2 separate regions of the Homo sapiens genome follow, and region 1 is linked to region 2. The links are contacts of gene promoters, found by promoter capture Hi-C in human tissues and cell types (Jung and others, 2019). All regions are on one chromosome and are shown on one strand. The core of a region is centred on a gene start or on the middle of the fragment in contact, and the rest is flanking DNA. Distances in the headings are between cores, read along the strand shown.

Region 1 (3,839 bases), core at 689-3,188, 80 kb after region 2:
TCACTGAAAACTGGCCGACTACCAGTTCTGTGCCACCTACTCAATTCTTACCCAGCCCTCTGCGTGAAGTTGGTATTATTATCCCCATTTGACAGATAACGAGGCTGGAGAGGCCCCGTGACTTGCCCAAAGCCACAAAGAGACTACTGGCAGAGCTTTGGCCTATGTTTAAGAAGCTGAACCTCTTTGGGATTCAGTTTCTTCATCCATAAAAACAAAGACACATTCCAAGCCATGCCTGTTCCTTGCAGGGTGTTTGTGAGGGTCAGAGAAAATGTCCTTGAAGAGCCTGGCATGTACAAGATACCCTGAAACTGATGGCTATGATGCCACGGCCTGTGCACCTAGGAAGAGTCAGGAAAGCCCAGTGTCTTGAAAAGCCGAGGCTGGAGCAAAGTTCAAGGAGGAACTCACTTCTCTCCCACTCTAGGACTGACCCTCAAACTAGCCAGAAGAGTGGAAGGACCTACAAGATCAGTACCCACCCCACACTTCATAGGCCAAGAGAGGGACAGTGGTTTACCCAGGGTCACCCAGCATGCTAGAGGCTAAGCCTGCCAGCCACGGCTGGGAACCCAGACTTGTGAATGCCCCAGCCCTCCACATTCCCTGGTCCGCTATCAAAGACAGTTAGTCTAATTAGGAAAGCACACCCTTGCAGGCCCAGCCTCCGGTGATCTCTTTGTTCCTCTGTCTCTTCCTGCCCCAACCCCACAGAAACTGAAGTGTGGGGACCCTCCCTAGGAACCGGGGTTCCAGGGAGGATTTGAGGTCACGCTCAAGATCATAAAGAGGCCCAGCATGGACTCCTTCTCATGACCCAAGTGGAGCCAGAGTTCCCAGATAAGGGCAAAGGTCACCTCAGGCCAGGCTCCACTCTCAGCCACCCCTTCTGCCTGGCAGGGTTTACTTCATCTCCTCCAGTCAGGAGAGGGGAGGTCACACTGCCAGGGCCTTTGCCCCATTCTTCTCCAGCTCCTTCTCTAGAGGAAGAGTCATGGCTAGGCCGAGGCAGTGTGGACCTGGAACAGGTATAAACTGTGCTACTCTTTGGTGCCCAGTGCCACTTTTCCTAGCCAGGACCAGAGCTATCACCTTCTCTGTCCCGCAGCTCTGCCCAGGTCTTAGTACCCCACTCACCCCTGGGCCTCAGGAACCCTAAGGAGGGGCATAGGGTTGCTTTCCATTCACACCTGGGGCAGCACAGGGAACTGTGCCACAGGCCCCAAGACAGGCAGATGGAGGATGAAATACACAGGTCCCAGTCCCTGAGGCCACCTTACGTGTCCGGCCCCCAACCCTGTGCAGAAGGTCAAGGCAGAGGCGCCGAGGAGGGATGGGAGGATGCCTCCTGTGAGATGGGGTACAACTGGTGTTCCTTCTGAAGCTGACATCTGGCCTCAGCTGGGACTCTGGCGCCAGCGGGCCCGCAGGGGGCTCACCCGCGACACCCTTTGTTCTGGCTGCCTCCCCAACCCCGCGGGGCCCTCTGCTCCAGCTGGCATGCCTCAAGGACGCTTCGCGCCTGCTCCTTTGGCCCCCGGCTCGCAAGTAGCGGGGCCAGCACGTGACCCGAGGGGGCAGGGGATGGATGGATCTTGACCTTGCCATCTGGCCCCTCACGGATGTGCTGCTGGCTCTCCCTCTAGGAAATCAACAAATTTTTGCGCTTCTAACATCCAGGCCCCTGAGGATGGTCGCGAGGAAGATCTGTTTCGGACTGCAGCTGGGGCCTTCGGATCCAGAGGAAACCAGGGCTATTCTTCGAGGGTGGGAGGGGGAGGGCCGCGGGGTCGGAGGGGAAGGTGGCCCCGCGCGAAGTCGCCGCCGCCGCGCCCCGCCCCGCCCCGCCGGCGGAGACCGAATCCGCCGCACCCCATAGGCAGAGGCCACCCTCCCCGCCTCCCCGCCCGCTGCGCGCCCGCCCCGCCCCGGCTCACTTTAAAAGTTTACTCGGGCCGGGACGCAGGGCAAAGCGAGCCATGGCTGTCTACGTCGGGATGCTGCGCCTGGGGAGGCTGTGCGCCGGGAGCTCGGGGGTGCTGGGGGCCCGGGCCGCCCTCTCTCGGAGTTGGCAGGAAGCCAGGTTGCAGGGTGTCCGCTTCCTCAGGTACTGGCCCCCCGCGGGAAGAGAGGGGGCGGGGCAGTTCCCCGGGAGAGGAACTTGGAGGTCCCGGCGAGCTTCGGAAGCCCCACCTCTGGACGAGTGCACTGGGGGGAAGGTACCCGCCCCTCCCCCGCCCCCCGCCAGCACCTAGGCAATAGGAAAAGCTGGCTTGGCCTGGTGGACTTGGGTGGGGAGGGGGCTTTGGTTGGTGGCTGCAGTGACTTCGAGTTCTGGTCCAAGACTCTCGATTCCTTCTCCTTTATGGGCACAGAGGGCAAGGAGTGTGGGCTTTAAGGAGAATATTCCGATGGGGAGGGGCAAGGGCCAAGGCCTGGGCTGTACCCCCAGGACACTGCCTCTGAGTTGGAACCCCTTCATGGGCAAACTTGGGGATCAGCCCCAGTCTCCCCGACCCAGGCCACTAAACTTAGCAGTCTCCTGTCTCCTCATCAGCTGCTCACTAACATGGCTTTAATTCTTTGCTGCCTACTCCTGGGCCTATTTCCTTCTGTCCTCAGTGCAAGGGGTGGGATGGAAGCTGGCAGGCAGAGGATTTCAGTTCCCAGTAGCTTCACTGCCTCTGCAGCAGCACAGTAAGTAAAGCTGCCTTCCCGGTGTGACCAGTCCTTGGGAGGACCCCGTGAGATGGCAAATGTGAAAGTGCTTGAGACACAGAGAGCAGGCTGCCACTCATGTTATCAGGGCTGTTAGCTTCAGCAGCACCACTGGGGAGCCCTGTGCACTACTGAGCCTGTCCTACCACTCAACTCGGCCAGATACTAAGTCTATGGTCAGGACAGCACTTTCAGCAACATCAGATGGGGTGTGGGCCTGGACATGGAAAAGGGAGAAGTCAGAACAAAGCTGTGTCTCAGAGAACTAGATTTGTTTTTGTTTTTAAAAAGGCTAAGTAGGAAGAGTTGGAGGGACATGCAGACTCCTTTTTGGCTAGAACTCCAAGATCACACTTTCTGAACTTGCTGATTTCTGAATGCTAGAAAGCATGCAATGCCTTAACATCACTCTGCCTAATTTGCTGAGAAAACTAAGTGGATCAAGGCTGGTCAGTAGATGGGATTGAGATGAGGACAGTGGGGTCCTCTTCCCAGTGACCCTGGGAAGTCACTCACTACTTCCCAGGGTCTCCCTAGACAAGTTCGGCCCTCCCCTGACCCCCTAGTCTCTTAAGCCTCTCCTCTGGACTCATGGCTGCCCCCTCAGGCTGGGAGGACTCTGAGGAAAGTTACTTCCCAAAGTGTACATATTTTATCACACTAAATCAGGCCACAGGGGAAGTCTCTCAGCCTACTCTGGCTCAGGAGGCTGCCCAATAGAAAACAAACAAACAAACCAATAAATAAGTAATAAATCAGGCCACATGGCAACATTTCTGACCTTTGACTTTTTTTTATCTATAAACAAAACAGGTCACTTACCTGCTACAGCCCTGGGACCTCTGAGAGCACCAAGCTTCAGAGAAATTCTTATTGCTGTGTCAGGAGGAGACTCATTTATCCAGACAGATGATTTTCTGAGTGTTTGGCCTACTTTCTTTCTGCCCCTTCCACTCCCTTGTGCCTGCACCCTTATTGTCTGACTGTGATGGTTTTACCTGATTTCTCTCCTACTTTCCCCTTCAGAAGCCTCAGGGCTCAGGCCAGGCAAGGTGGTTTATGCCTGTAATCTCAGCACTTTGGAAAGCAGAGGTGGTAGGATCACTTGAGCCCAGGAG
Region 2 (3,512 bases), core at 544-3,043:
AAAATGTTAATGATGATCATCTTAAGGGGTGGGATTGTAGGTGACTTTTACTTTTTTTCTTATTCGTTTAGTGTTTAAATGTTATATAATGGATATTTATTACTTATATAATCAGTGAAAAATAAAGCTATTTTCATTGTTGTGGGGGGAATTCTTGGCAGGTAGAAGTCCCTAGAGGATCTGATTTAATGAGCACACAAGATCAATATTTAATTAACATATCAATTGCCGGGATGTCAACTGATGTTTTCCAAAATCATTGAAGTGTAGGCTCTCTTAAGTAGCCAAACTGTCGTCGGAAACATAGTTTACAATTCTCCCATTTAACAAACGCGGAGGAACAGAATGATTACAAATGCTAAAGCGCAGAAGACGATTAAAGGAGGTTATTTATGTACCATCAAATGCTTGTGTATCCTGTACACATCAGTTTAGAATTCTCTCATCAACCCAACCTTGTGGCAACTTCCAAACCCCTCCATCATGGCCTTCTAACTTTTCAAACTTTTTTTTTTGTAAGCCACTTCTCTTTCCAGACCTCTCTGTAGTGGTTCCTAACGTCTTCCCTTTAAACCTTCTAACTTGTGTTTGCTATTTTTATGACTTCCTCCTCCCAGTGCCTGGCTTCCCCAGCTGGGGATTCACCTTGCTTTGGTGGCCACTGTTTTGCTCTTCTCGCCTTCCCTCTCTCCATGGGCCTGCCAGGCTTAGGGAAGGCCGCAGGTGCTTAGACCTTGTCCAATGCGGTGCTCATTGAACACGCCGGGTTCTCAAACAAATGTTAGGGACAGCTGGTTAGACGGGAATCTGGGCCTCCCCTGCTTGCTTTCCGCAACATTTCTTGAGCATTGCTGGGTGTCCAAGGCAGGGCGAGATCCCAGAGCAGTCACGACCGGATGTATGATTGGTGCTCACTGCACAGTGCTGGGGACGCACAGGGAGGATGCCACTGATGGTGTAGGGGGTGGGGACTTGGCAGAGGGAGCAGCATGTGTCGAGGTCTACTGGTTCTCCAAGTTTGGTCCCAGAGCAAAGGCATCAGCATCACCTGGGAACCTGCTGAAAATTCTAATGCTTAGGCCTCACTACCGACCTACCAAAGCAGACACTCTGGGGGAGGGAGGAGGGGCACTAAAAATCTGTTTTATCAAGACCTCCAAGAGACTCCAACACACGCTAGAGTAGTTTGAGAACCACGACTCTGGGAGCGGCCTGAGGATGCTTAGGATGAGCGCAGAGCGGAAAGGAGGATTCGTGAAGGCTCTCTGATGCCAGTCAAGGGGTTAGACTTTGCCCCGCAGGTGCGGCCTCCAGGTTTTTAAGCAGACGCCTGTGGCTCTCACACGCCCTCTCCCAAGGCGGCGTCTCTGGGAGCCCTGGCGTTCCCTGGGCCCCCGGGACCGAGAGCTTACCCGCGTGGGACTGAACTCGCCCACGACCCCCGACACCAGGCAAGAGAGGTTGTGCCGCAGACCCTCCACTCCCCAGCACCAGGCGCTCGCCGTCCAGGTGGAGGGGAGCACACGTGGGAGCCAGGGGCACCGGCGGAGACACGAGCGCAGAAGGCACGCGCTCAAGCCCACGCCCGCGACTGCCGGGACTGAAGGTGTTGCGAGCCCCGGCTCCACCCCTAGCCTGCGGTGCGCCGTGCTTTGGCCCCGCAGGCCCCGCCCCCGGCCCCGCCCCGGCGCGCGCCCGGCCCGCCTCCCTAGGCGTGGAGGAGGGGGGGCGGCTCAGCCCCGCGCCCGTGCGCGCGCTCGCGGCCGGGTTGCAGGGCTGGGCGCGCGCCCCGCGTCCCGGGCAGGAAGATGGTGGCGAGCGCGCGAGTGCAGAAGCTGGTGCGGCGCTACAAGCTGGCGATTGCCACGGCGCTGGCCATCCTGCTGCTGCAGGGCCTGGTAGTGTGGAGCTTCAGCGGCCTGGAGGAGGACGAGGCGGGCGAGGTGCTCCGACGGCCGGGCGGGCGGGCAGGCCGGGCGCGGGGGCGCGCGGGGTCCTGGCGGGGCTGCGGGCGGCCCCAGCCGGGGAAGTGGGGCACGGGCCGCGTGCGTGCGTGCGGGGCGCCGGCGGTCGCCCAGAGCGGAGCATCCGGCCCCCGGCACTCCCTTCCCCAGCAGGCCTAGGGAGCTGCGCGCGGGGGCAGTGCGTGACCTGGAGACCCGGGCCCTGGTGGATTGGGAGTCGGGCGGGGGGAGCAGGTCATGCTAGGGTGGTCTCCGGCCAAGGGAGCGATGAAGGTCAGGCGCGGCGAGCGGGGCTGGGAGGCGGGGCTGGGCCCGAACCTGCTCGGAGGTGGGGAGCCCCAGGCCAAACTTTCTGAAGTTGGGAGGGGGCGGGGATATGCGCGCCGTGGGCGGAGGAGTAGGGCCAAGGGACTCAGGGCGTCCTTCCCCAGCTGAGCCCGAGGGGCAGCGGCCGGTGAGGAAGGGGAGCTCGGGGGTGGAATTCAGGCCTGGGACAAAGTGTGTACCCGGGAACTGAAGGAACAGGGAGTGACGCCGAAGGAGAGAACTGGAGTATTCCCGAGGTGTGGCTTCCTCAGCCGGGGGTTTGAAGAACCTGGATGGGTCTCCGGAGGGCAGGGAGAGGAGGAACTGAGCTGGTGAGTTGGCCTCAGGACCTTAGGGAATTAGGGAGGGGCCCTCTGGCTTTAAGGGAATGGGGACTGTAACAGAGCCCCAGCCGCAGAGCAGGGGCAACCAACAGCCGTCTCAGCCCCCAAGTCCCTGCCTCGAGGGTCTTTCTCCCTCTTCCCCGATGTGGTTTCAGCGGGAGGCTCAGACACCTCAGCGGTGTGGTGAGGAAGGGTCCATTGGGTCTGGGTTCGTGCTGCGGAGATGGAGAGGACAGGCCACACCACAGCCCTAAGCTGTGGCCCAGAGGTCAGGACCTCCCTGCCCCCAGCGCCCCTGTTCTGCTGCCTCCAGGGCTCCGGGTCAGAGACTCTATCTGCTGCTGTCCTCCGGCAAGCCCCGATACCCGCGACCCCTTACCGCATCTCGCCAGTCTGGAAGGCCTGGTGTGGAGACAGAAGAGCTGCCCTTGCCTTTTTTTGGGAGAACCCAGAGGGTGGGATGGTGATGGGGGCTGGAACAGAGTCACATGAGACCATAACTCCAAAAGGAGGTGGGGGCGGGGGTGGGGCTGGCTCCGTGACATCCGTGGGGTGTAGACCTACAAGTAGGACAAGCAAGTAGGAGAGTGTTTCAGGCCCAGTGTAAGAAGACTGTTTGGGCAGATGGGACATTCCAAGATGGAATGGGCTGCCAAAGCAGTTAGGGAGCCCTCTGACCCTGGAATATGTGACCACTCTGGGCTACCGCCCCCATCCCCCACCACCTCCTCCTCCAGCTTCCTGGCTGAATGAATAGGGGAATCCTGGGCTGGAATGTTTGAAAAAGCTTGTGCGGTCCAGGCACCCATTGCTGCTTGGACCCCCTCAGCTGCTCCCTCACCTGACTCTGGGGTTGCCAGGCAGCATAACGGGGTGCATGGGAAGGTGAGTGCTGAAG

What was found. Contacts are between HindIII fragments. The study calls those that stand out against the background at their distance.
Region 1: a contact is called between the fragment with the promoter of ACSF2 here and the fragment with the promoter of XYLT2 in region 2, in 1 of the 25 tissues and cell types used here (adrenal gland).

The regions. Positions count from the first base shown.
Region 1 is chr17:50,424,280-50,428,118 of GRCh38, forward strand. ACSF2 (acyl-CoA synthetase family member 2) reads left to right here and starts at 1,939. Exons shown (of 16, transcript NM_025149.6): 1 at 1,939-2,110. The coding sequence starts at 1,983. RefSeq lists an enhancer at 1,471-2,015 and a silencer at 1,752-2,071. The HindIII fragment of the contact is 9,502 bases long and covers 1-3,839 here.
Region 2 is chr17:50,344,333-50,347,844 of GRCh38, forward strand. XYLT2 (xylosyltransferase 2) reads left to right here and starts at 1,794. Exons shown (of 11, transcript NM_022167.4): 1 at 1,794-1,943. The coding sequence starts at 1,809. RefSeq lists silencers at 1,581-1,780, 1,841-1,940, 2,011-2,100, 2,916-3,210. The HindIII fragment of the contact is 7,409 bases long and covers 1-3,512 here.